Regions from separate parts of the Homo sapiens genome. Here region 1 is linked to region 2. Evidence: promoter capture Hi-C in human tissues and cell types (Jung and others, 2019). All regions are on one chromosome and are shown on one strand. Each heading gives the region's core, a stretch centred on a gene start or on the middle of the fragment in contact. The rest is flanking DNA. Distances are from core to core; before and after follow the strand shown. Region 1 overlaps LOC101927947 (a long non-coding RNA gene). Region 2 holds the start of SFRP2 (secreted frizzled related protein 2).

Region 1 (5,603 bases), core at 2,076-4,575, 50 kb after region 2:
CTTCTGTGTGTTTGGTCTCCAATGACCTGTGATTGGCCATACACAGTTTTTTTTTTTTTTCTTGCCTTCATATGTGATTATTGTATGCAACATTTGCTATTGTAGATTATCCCATGCTCTTGGAATCTTTTTCTCATCGAGTCCCATAATACAGCCTGTCCTTGTCCCTTTCTGTGTTGGACTGTTCCCTGTGTCCTTCATAAGCCCCTTCAACCATATCCAGAGGTGCTTTCTTATCTTATGTCCCTCAGAGAATTCACTTAGGGCTTTCTCTAATGATCCACTATTATGACAACATTACACCTAAGTCTCTACTTCTACCTTGAAATACCCTGCTGTGCCAAACTCCTAATTTCAGACTTGTCACTGGACATTTCCAAATTGATGACATGACAGCAGCTGAGGCAAAATGTGTGTAAAATGGAATTCATCATCTGCCCTCTGAAGCCTGCTTCTTCCTCCTGAGTTCCCATTTCTGTTAATTATGTCACCAAGGGCTAAATCTTAGGGCCATCTTTGATCCCTTTCTCTCCTTGTCTCCTATCATCCAGTTAAGTCCTGTCACTTCCTCCATCACAGTGTGCCTTGGATGTGTCCTTTGCCCTCACACTGCCATGGTCCTGGTGCACTGCCTCTGACCTTGGCCTTCCTCATCTCTATCACTTGCTCCCTGACCTTCCTCTCTCCAGGCTCTCCTCTACCATCCATGCAGCACATTCTCTAGAAGAATTTCCCTGCATTTCCAGTTACAGAGTGACAGTTATTTTGTTCACCTTCTTTCCTGGCTCAGAAATTAGCAGTAGTTTCTTATTACTTCCGAAATCAGCTTCAAACGTAGCTGCCTTCAGACTCTCTGCCTCTGGGCCCTGCCGCACATTTCTAGCCTGTTCTCCTCCTTAATGTCCCACAAGATTCTGCTCCACTCAAACTCAAAATCCCTGAAATGCTCCTTGTTCTTTTTCACATCTTTTTTTTTGGTTTATGGCATTTCTTCCTCCTCTGACTCACTTTCTCTGTTCTCCATCCCCAACGCTTCAAAACTGCCTATTCTTCATAACCCAGTCCAAACGCTACTTAACTCAAGGGGCCAATTCAGGTGAGAGGAAGGAAGGAAGGAAGGAGATCCCTACAATGTCCTGACAGTTGTTCACTGACACTCTCAGCCATCCATGTACTGTGTGTCTCTCCATTGCTCTTGTAAGCAGTGCTTCCAACCTCAGCTGCACAATAGAATCACCTGGGAGCTTCTAAAAAGTACCAAAGCTCAGGCTCCACCCCAGACCAGTGAAATCAGAATATGTGGGGCCATGACCCAGTGATTCATATTTTTAAGGCTCATTGAGTGACTCCTCTGTGCAGCCAAGGATTAATGTCTACTACTATGTGAATTTTTGTAGATTATTTTTAATGGCTCTGCGTTTTTTTCCTTTTTTCCAACTTTGGTTCTTGTGGGATTCTTTGTTTTTTAGCCTCTGTGATGTCTAGCACTGTTGTTTGTTTGTTTGTTTTGTTTTGAGACGGAGTCTTGCTCTGTCGCCCAGGCTGGAGTGCAGTGGTGCGATCTTGACTTACTGCAACCTCCACCTCCCTGGTTCAAGCAATTCTCCTGCCTCAGCCTCCTGAGTAGCTGGGATTACAGGTGCACACCACTAGGCCTGGCTAATTTTTTTGTATTTTTAGTAGAGACGGGGGTTTCACCATGTTGGCCAGACTGGTCTTGAACTCCTGACCTCAGGCAATCCACCTGCCTCTGCCTCCCAAAGTGCTGAGATTACAGGCATGAGCCACCGCTCCCGGCCAGCACTGTTTTTTATACTCAGTGGAACTTCAAAGAAAAAAAGTGTTAAGATTTAAGAATGGAAAACAAATAAAAAGGGTTGATTTTTAGGGAAGGAATGCCAACTGGCTCAGTGGCTATCCCACACTGGAAATGTTAAGAGTCTCTTGTATGTTAAATAACCGACTTCAAGTATTTGGTGTAAACTATTTGTGTCCAAGCAGTTAATATGCGAATTAAGCATTTATTAACATTTGTCTCATGAAGCCTCACTTGCCCATGTAATAATATTAGTTTGGTGCAAAAGTTAATTGTGGTTTTTGCCTTTAAAAGTAATTGTATGTAGCAATTAATATAATGCTACATACAACTCAAATACCTTGGATGAGTACCTGTTCTACCTCTTGGGTTGTTCTCAAGATTAAACACACAAAACTTCTGGGAAAAAACAAAAGCTTTAAAAACCATGGTTAGATATTATTTTTAATGAAGCTGTATTTTTTTTTTAAAGAAATGAATCTTAAAGAGCTCCTATTCAATGCATTCTCCCTTTCAGGAGCACCATTGAATACCTTAAGTCAAAAGGAAAACTTGTCTTGTGGTGGGCATATCTGCTTCTCTCCCTATGCTATATTTCTGATATCAGTTTGTGGATGTTGCAGAGTTTATTTTAGTCTAGGGGATGGGAATGAATTTAAATTCATTTCTACCTCAGGTGAGGCAGCCCCTTTCAGAAAAAAATAGGAAATAAAGAAGGAAGACTGCTGAGAAAATTCTCTTTTCAACTTAGAAAAGCACAGAATGCCTCTTGGAGAGTGATTTAATGGCCTGGACTCTGTAGCTTATAGATTCATGTTCAAAATCTGGCTCAGTTGACCAGCTATGTTGATCTTGGACAAAGTGCTTGGCCTCGCTGTGCTTTGGTGTCCTCAGCTGTGCATAGAGAGTAACATTTAGGTCTCAATGTTGGGAGAATTGAGCCATAGGATATATGGAAGGTAGCTGACACTTAGTAGGACCTCACGGAGGTTCCCTTTTCCTTAAGGCACCATGGATATCAATGAGTCCTGTTTTTGTCGTGACCTTAGCAGGCTTCCTCTTAGTGTTTTTCAGGGCATGCATTTTACTGGTATGTTGGTAAACAGAAATATACAATTTCACTTTGGGTCTGAGAGGTTTTCATTATTTTTTGAACCACAAAATGATTTTCTTTCTTTCCTCTTCTGTAAATTCATTGAATGTTGGAATTCCTTTGCAGTACCTTTGCCATAAATTCTACTCACTACATATAATTTAAATCAAGCAGGTATAACATAATTGCCCTCATTAGGAGAGTGTAGGACGGTATACTAACTTTGCTTCCAAGGAATTCACATTACCATTTGAAAAAATTTCGAAACTGATTTTCCCAGTTGCAGAAGTTTCTGGAAACTTGGATTGAAGAGTCTGCATACTTTGGTGGGCTTCTAGTTAATGTATTGCGTTGAACATAGATTTCTTGAACGAGTCACAGTAGTCTCTTATAAATCACAAAGAAAAGTTCATCCTCATTCTAGTTACAAGTCCTACGCCATGAATCAAATCTTAGCAAAGACCAGCTTAGAAATCTTGAAAAAGGCCTGACATTTTGTTAAAATGACAGGCAACTAGATTTCTCCTGCCCTCCCTCCTCACATTTCCTTTCCTTGTTCAACAACAGTACAATTTGTGTAGTGGTATTTTCAGTCTTCTTTTTCTATACTGAAAGTAATTTTTTAAGCATGAAACTGGGTACTTTGTTGCCCCCATACAGAAAGACTTTACAGGTTTAGCTGGAATAGAGTTGAAGAGCACATAAAGTTGATGTCAAGGCCTACTTACATTGAAGTAAAATTAGATTTATGGATTGAAATGGGAAGCCTAATTTGTATGTGCCTCCTTCCTAAAAGCCAGCTATAATCTAGAGGGAAAACTATCTGAACCAGTCTGAGTGAACCCAACCCATTTCATCTTCTAAGACTGGTTTGTTCATTACTTAGGGGATAAAGGCAGAGACTAGCTCATGGGGATTAAGAATGACAGAGTGGCCCTCCGACACTAAGCTATAAATGTATTAGCATATTTTAGTACCTTGCCCAGATAGCCTGGGTCTTTCAAAAAAATTGTTTTTTAAAGAATGATAAGATACATTTTTCCTCCACCCCAATTTAAATTTTCTGAATTTCTATTCATGGATCAATATTTCCAATTCCTGGGTAACTCATCAATTTTTTTATTATTGTTTCTTTCCTAGCTTCTTCTGTTTCAGAGCTATGTTTCCCAGTGGGCTGCCACATCTTTGGGTTTCCAGTACTTGGAATTTTGCTTTCCAGTTGCAGAGCTAAGAAGCCAATTCACATTCCATCGTTGTCCCAAAGTCTTTTTCCTATTTTGAATGCCCCATCTTGTCTGGATTTATCAAGGGGTAAGAAGCATGTATTACTTTGGCCTGAAAAATTTCTTGCTGAGTCCCACTCCATTAGAAAACAATAATATTTGAAAGAAATCGGCCAGTCACAATTCCTAGGCCTGAACAGTTCAGACCATTTCAGAGAGAGTCTTTTTGTGATTGTTTCTCTTCACATAGTGACTGAAGCAATTCAGGCTTAAAACACACCCTGATCATTAGTTGTTATTACAGATGGTAGGACGAGCAATTATGCTGAACTGAATTTTTCCCATCTTATCTATTTCAGGTAAAAGAGTCAGTGTAGAGCATGAGCTCTTAGACGAGGTTTTCCAATGTTCCAAGGTTTTCCAACCCAGATGAAGTTTCTATCTGAGCTCCTGGCAAATCTTGAAGTTTTCCCTGTAATCCTGATAGGTTTCACCACAATTCTGATACATATTCCTTGGTTTAATTGTGTGCCATAGTCATAGAATTTTGGAAGCAGAAAGAAGCTTAAGGGTATCTAGTTAAATACCCTCCTCCGTATTCTACAGATGAGAACATGGAGTTTGAATGGGATCTTAGAGAAAAATGAACTGGGGTATTTTTTTGTTTACTTTTCCTCCCAAGGAAATAATCCTTATCTCAGTATTTTCTAAATTAGACCAGCCACATTTTTCTTGCCTTGACATTCTCATTTCCATTTGGACAGAGTAGGTTAGCCAAAATTTAGTGAAATGATAGACAATGATATTGCTATTTAATTCAGATTCTTTTCTTTCTTTCTTTTTTTTTTTTTGAGACGGAGTCTTGTTCTGTCGCCCAGGCCAGAGTGCAGTGGCGCGATCTTGGCTCACTGCAAGCTCTGCCTCCTGGGTTCATGCCATTCTCCTGCCTCAGCGTCCCGAGTAGCTGGGACTACAGGCGACCGCCACCACGGCTGGCTAATGTTTTGTATTTTTAGTAGAGACGGGGTTTCACCGTGTTAGCCAGGATGGTGTTGGCCTCCTGACCTCGTGATCTGCCCGCCTCGGCCTCCCAAAGTGCTGGGATTGCAGGCGAGAGCCACTGTGCCCGGCCTAATTCAGATTCTTTAGCACAAGAATTTATCCTAAGTAAAGGCAAAAGGTAACGTTATTGGCAGTATTCAGACTGCCCTTGACTAGTGCTGTCTATGTCACGTTCCTGATTTATTTCTTGAAAAGCAGTCATTTGGTGTAAATATGCCCAACCTCTCACCACTGAAAATGGCACCCCCATTTATTTTTGCTCCTTTTCTCTAAATAAATAAGTTTATCTATACAAGTGTACTACTTCCATGACAATATATTTTGTAACACCTTTATTGAGATATAAATCACATACCAAATGATTCACTCATTCACAGTGTATACGTCAATGGTTTTTAGTATATTCAAG
Region 2 (5,327 bases), core at 1,987-4,486:
GTTGTTGTATTACTTACCAAAATCATTTTTACAAAGCGTTTCCATTATGTCGTTGTCATCATCATTTTTATTTTTGCAGGCTTCACATACCTTTGGAGCTAGAAATGTGAAAAACAGTCTTTAGTAAGTTTGCTTAAAAGAGAACAGTAGGTGGCGTTTGTAAACAACTCAAAGGGACTTATCCAGACAAAAGTAGCAATTGTCCTATTTAACCTCAGCTTCTGCCTCCTCTATAAAAGCAGGAACACTCAATCCTAAGAAAGTTTTCCCATGCTTCCCAATTTTTTTGGGGGGGAGGGGTGGTGGGAGCAAAATGAGAATGCCTATATGTTGTTGTGTTTAATAAATTATGACTCTCAAAAGGGAGTTGTGGGCAGAGTATACAAGTGTATGTAGTTATAGTTAACTGAGACAGGGTGCAGCTTTTCAGCTCATCCTCCCAACCTCTGGGAAATTCAGTCTGAAAAAGTTATTCCCAAGGCCTTTTGAAGGAGAAAGCACCCAAAGAACCAAAGATACTTGAGGAATTTGGGAAAACTGGTAACTAGAAAATATAGACAAAAGATTGTCTTTCTCAGCCACAGGACACCAGTGTAGTTGGCTCTACTCGGCAGAGCTCTGTATCTCAGGGGGGCCAAGTCTGGACTGGGAGGGGTGACTGGCTAGCGTTCCACATGTGGGCTGTTTCCACCTTGAAAACACATCTCACTAATTACAACAGCCTGCTCTAAGTGGTTCTGTGTCACCTTGTGCCTCTGCCAAGATTGTGCTTGAGTTAGGCAGCATTCATTTCATTGTTATCTGCAAGCTCCCTGGTACAGGTTCTTCTTGCCCTTCTGTGCCTGTTTCAAACTCTCAAAACAAACAAATAAATAAACCTGTTTCTGAAGCTAATCAAAGACGAAGCAAAAATGGTTTAGTGGTCTGATCAAACTTAGGGATTGTATACTAGCACAATTATCAGAAGACCTGCTAAAAGCTCTTCTAAGAGTTTGATTTCTTGGGAGAAGTAAAAAAAAAAAAAAAAGAACAATTATATTGCCCTTCTCTCATTTATAAATGTGTTAATTATGTCTTTAAAATTTAGGTGAAATGAGATTTTCACTAATGTGAAATTTAATGTTCATAGAAAACTATGTGACTTAATAGAAGCGTTATTTATCAAATTAGAAAAATCACAAAGCTGGAATTTTGAAGAACATAAACTTTTATTTTGAAGGAGAAAAGTGGCTTTTTGGAGAAATGTAAGATGCGTAATGTTGCTGCTGATAGTGGGAAGAAATAAAAGCAACATACATAAAACTGCCCTTAAGTCCCCTCACCCAAACAAAATCAAACATTTCCAATTAGGAGCTCTCAGGATGTATATAAAATATTACTAACCTGTATTGGTTGGTCTATGGTACATGTTGGACAAATGTTTGAAAAATGCCAAACATTTGCAATAAATTAGAAATCTAACCAATAAGATGATTGCAAACTCATGGTCCCTGCCAGGAAAGATTGCTAAAGAACTTTGCATTTGCTTTAACTAATGATGTCTGTAGGAAAACTACTAGAGATTGAAAGGGAGAGGCTGCTGAAGCCCTGAAAGGGATTAGGAAGCTCCCTTTTCCAACCCAGGGGACCCAAATCAGCTCAGAGGCATTGTATATGTTTTCCTTTCAGAAAAAATATTGAGAGCCCATGAGGTTTTCATTGCTTTGATGGTTTTTGCACAGGAACTCTCCCTCCGTTTTCTAAAAACTTGGGAATCTCTTTTGCATGATTTTCTCCAGCTAATCAAAACCACTCCTAAGTTAAAAACTGATAGCAATAGAAAAGTGATTTCCAGAGATTCCCTTTATGCCCTCTTCCTCAAGTATCTGAGCAGTTACAACCAATGTTCAATTTTCCACACACTCCGTGCCAGTCCCGGTTTTATTTCCAAAATCTAAATTGACAAAGGACAAAAAGACCCTTAAAAGGTTATCTACTTGTGCATCCTGGTTTTCCTTTCTGTACAGGAAATGTTCCTGTGACTAGAATCCTGCCCAGTGGTAGGAAGGTGCAGAATGAGGCTGAGCGAGGGGCCTCTGGCCAGAATGCTCACCACAAACTCCTCCACCAAACACCACTTCCAACGCTCTGCGCAGCTCCAGTGCTAGCATCTTTAACAATAATCGTGTATCTATTTTTTTTTAAACCGCCGTTCAGTTCTTCGTTTTTTTAGTTTTGTTGTTTTTGTTTGTTTGTTTTATTTTTAAACTGCCCTTAAGTATAGCTGGTACAACTCGGGAGGAGAATGCGCGAGACTTGGGCGGCGTGGGAGGGGTGCCTCAAATTTGATACAGGCTTGTTGTGATGACAGACCAGGTCAGGCAGAACTTCTGCCCTTCCCGCTACTGGCACCCCAAGCAGGGATGCACTGGGATGCGTGGCAGGGGCGGGATCTCCTGGGAGCGTCTCAGCCCAGCAGGGAGTGGGGAAGCAAGAGGGAAGGCTTACCTTCCTCGGTGGCTGGCAGGAGGTGGTCGCTGCTAGCGAGGGGGATGCAAAGGTCGTTGTCCTGGGGGAAACGGTCGCACTCAAGCATGTCGGGCCAGGGGAAGCCGAAGGCGGACATGACCGGGGCGCAGCGGTCCTTCACCTGCACGCAGAGCGAGTGGCATGGCTGGATGGTCTCGTCTAGGTCATCGAGGCAGACGGGGGCGAAGAGCGAGCACAGGAACTTCTTGGTGTCCGGGTGGCACTGCTTCATGACCAGCGGGATCCAAGCGCCGGCCTGCTCCAGCACCTCCTTCATGGTCTCGTGGCCCAGCAGGTTGGGCAGCCGCATGTTCTGGTATTCGATGCCGTGGCACAGCTGCAGGTTGGCAGGGATGGGCTTGCAATTGCTGCGCTTGTAGGAGAAGTCGGGCTGGCCAAAGAGGAAGAGCCCGCGCGCCGAGCCCAGGCAGCAGTGCGAGGCGAGGAAGAGCAGCAGCAGCGAGCCAGGGCCCTGCAGCATCGTGGGCGCGCGACCCCGAGGGGGCAGAGGGAGCGGAGCCGGGGAAGGGCGAGGCGGCCGGAGTTCGAGCTTGTCCCGGGCCCGCTCTCTTCGCTGGGTGCGACTCGGGGCCCCGAAAAGCTGGCAGCCGGCGGCTGGGGCGCGGAGAAGCGGGACACCGGGAGGACAGCGCGGGCGAGGCGCTGCAAGCCCGCGCGCAGCTCCGGGGGGCTCCGACCCGGGGGAGCAGAATGAGCCGTTGCTGGGGCACAGCCAGAGTTTTCTTGGCCTTTTTTATGCAAATCTGGAGGGTGGGGGGAGCAAGGGAGGAGCCAATGAAGGGTAATCCGAGGAGGGCTGGTCACTACTTTCTGGGTCTGGTTTTGCGTTGAGAATGCCCCTCACGCGCTTGCTGGAAGGGAATTCTGGCTGCGCCCCCTCCCCTAGATGCCGCCGCTCGCCCGCCCTAGGATTTCTTTAAACAACAAACAGAGAAGCCTGGCCGCTGCGCCCCCACAGTGAGCGAGCAGGGCGCGGGCTGCGGGAGTGGGGGGCACGCAGGGCACCCCGCGAGCGGCCTCGCGACCAGGTACTGGCGGGAACGCGCCTAGCCCCGCGTGCCGCCGGGGCCCGGGCTTGTTTTGCCCCAGTCCGAAGTTTCTGCTGGGTTGCCAGGCATGAGTGGGAGAGGGTGTGTGTGTGTGTGTGTGTGTGTGTGTGTGTGTGTGTGTGTGTGTTGGGGGGCTGCGTCCCTGGTAGCCGCGTGTGCCCTGTGATGGAGCCCGGGACCTGCCCGCCCGAGGCCGCCTCGGCGAACTTCGTTTTCCCTCGAATCTCCAGCCACCGTTCAGCAGCCTGTCGGTGTGCTCCCCAATGCCGTAAAAAAATCAGAATTATAAATATATTCGTATGAGCAGAACTTTACATGGAAAACGAAATACTAATAAAATGGGCTTGTTATTCTGTTGGAGTGAGTGCCTAGGAAGGGTTTCGTCGTTGTAGAAACGCCCCTACAAGAGTCTCACCAGTCACACAGGACTGCCCACCATTTCCCCGTTTTGGAGAGATTTTTCCTTCTTAAATGAATGGCATGACTCAATACTCGAAGGCATCACGGGCTCTAACACACAGCCGCCCTTGCAGCTGTGCGCTCTGGAAAGCTGGAGTATGGGCCCCCAGGGCACTGTTTGTAAAGACTGGTGGCCGGCACAAAAGACGGGCACAAAAGATGGGCAGGCTGGGAGGGAGCGAGGTAGAGGAAGGAGTCCTGCCTAGAGATCCACGAGGGCTAGAATTAGCTCATTCATCCCCTACGTACCAGGGGGCACCATGCTGGGCGCTGGATGTGCAGAAATGAACAAACAGGCCGGCCTCTGCTCTCGTGGAGCCTGGGATCTAGTGTCTCTGACTGCAAACAGTAAGTTCTGGGTTGGGGGGTGGGCTCCTTTTGCCTAATTGTCCCTAGTCTCCCTATGGGGACAGGAGGCCTTCGCTCTCCTCAGCCGCTGTCTCCGGGTGGCTGTGAAGATCCAAAGAGATAATCCCCGGAGGGCGAAGTTCTTTCATATGTAAGGTGGGCGCATTGTTATTACTTCCCGACCACTTAAGAGTCATTCACAGGCTCAGACCCCGGCTTCCTAATTTCCCTCCTTCCGGAAGATGCGTTGGCCTTGGCGGCTCCCAGGCCCAAGTTATCAGGCACACTTTGCGGTCCAGCTGCTTAGAGGAGCCGGGTAATGAATGAATGGGTGGCAAAAGCCCACTCAGTGTTATCTGCTGACCGTAAACACGCCAGGAAAATCGTCATCTGGAGAGAATGCACATTCTGAACTCCAAGAATCTGCGTCCCTAAGAGCCCAGCTTCCGGGTGCTCTGCTGGGGAAGGGCCCGGGGTAGCTGCAAAAGGCCTCTCTTTCCCCAAATTGGTTCAGGGCCTTTTCGTCTCTAACGAAAGCACCAAGAGGCCTAAAAGCCCCCTTCCCAACATAAACTACTTTGCAATGAAACCACAAAGGAAACAGAAGCACACCAAAAGAAAGAGCTAATAAAGAGCGTGAGCTCTGAGAGATGCTACGACTTGGGCCTGGGAGTGGGATAAGGGCCCTCTCGCTTTCACGCCCCCCCAACCCCCCGCCGGCCCCGGCCAACCCCTAAATCCCCAACGCCCTCCGCTGGGGTCGCCTCCTCCCCGCAGAGCCCCTTGTTGGGAGTTCAAGGAGCCCGAAGCTGGTCTGGCTGGTTTGAGCCCCGCGCTGCCGCACGCCCGGAAGTGGCTGGCGGCCCCCGCGCTCCGCGCGCCGGCTGCATTGTTTTGGGAGCCCTCGCTGCCCGGCTTGCCGCCAGGAGGTGCTGGGAGTCG

What was found. The method cuts DNA at HindIII sites, captures the fragments that hold promoters and counts their contacts. A contact is called where the count stands out against the background at its distance.
Region 1: a fragment that was not itself captured here is called in contact with the fragment with the promoter of SFRP2 in region 2 in 1 of the 25 tissues and cell types used here (small bowel).

The regions. Positions count from the first base shown.
Region 1 is chr4:153,836,108-153,841,710 of GRCh38, forward strand. LOC101927947 (a long non-coding RNA gene) reads left to right here. Exons shown (of 15, transcript XR_007058336.1): 2 at 4,050-4,220. Among named protein-coding and RNA genes, the nearest start is that of SFRP2, 50 kb to the left of the region's middle. The HindIII fragment of the contact is 5,457 bases long and covers 598-5,603 here.
Region 2 is chr4:153,785,847-153,791,173 of GRCh38, forward strand. SFRP2 (secreted frizzled related protein 2) reads right to left here and starts at 3,237. Exons shown (of 3, transcript NM_003013.3): 1 at 2,488-3,237; 2 at 18-98. The coding sequence starts at 2,989. RefSeq lists enhancers at 3,381-3,550, 3,465-4,166, 4,167-4,868, 5,130-5,299. The HindIII fragment of the contact is 9,313 bases long and covers 1-5,327 here.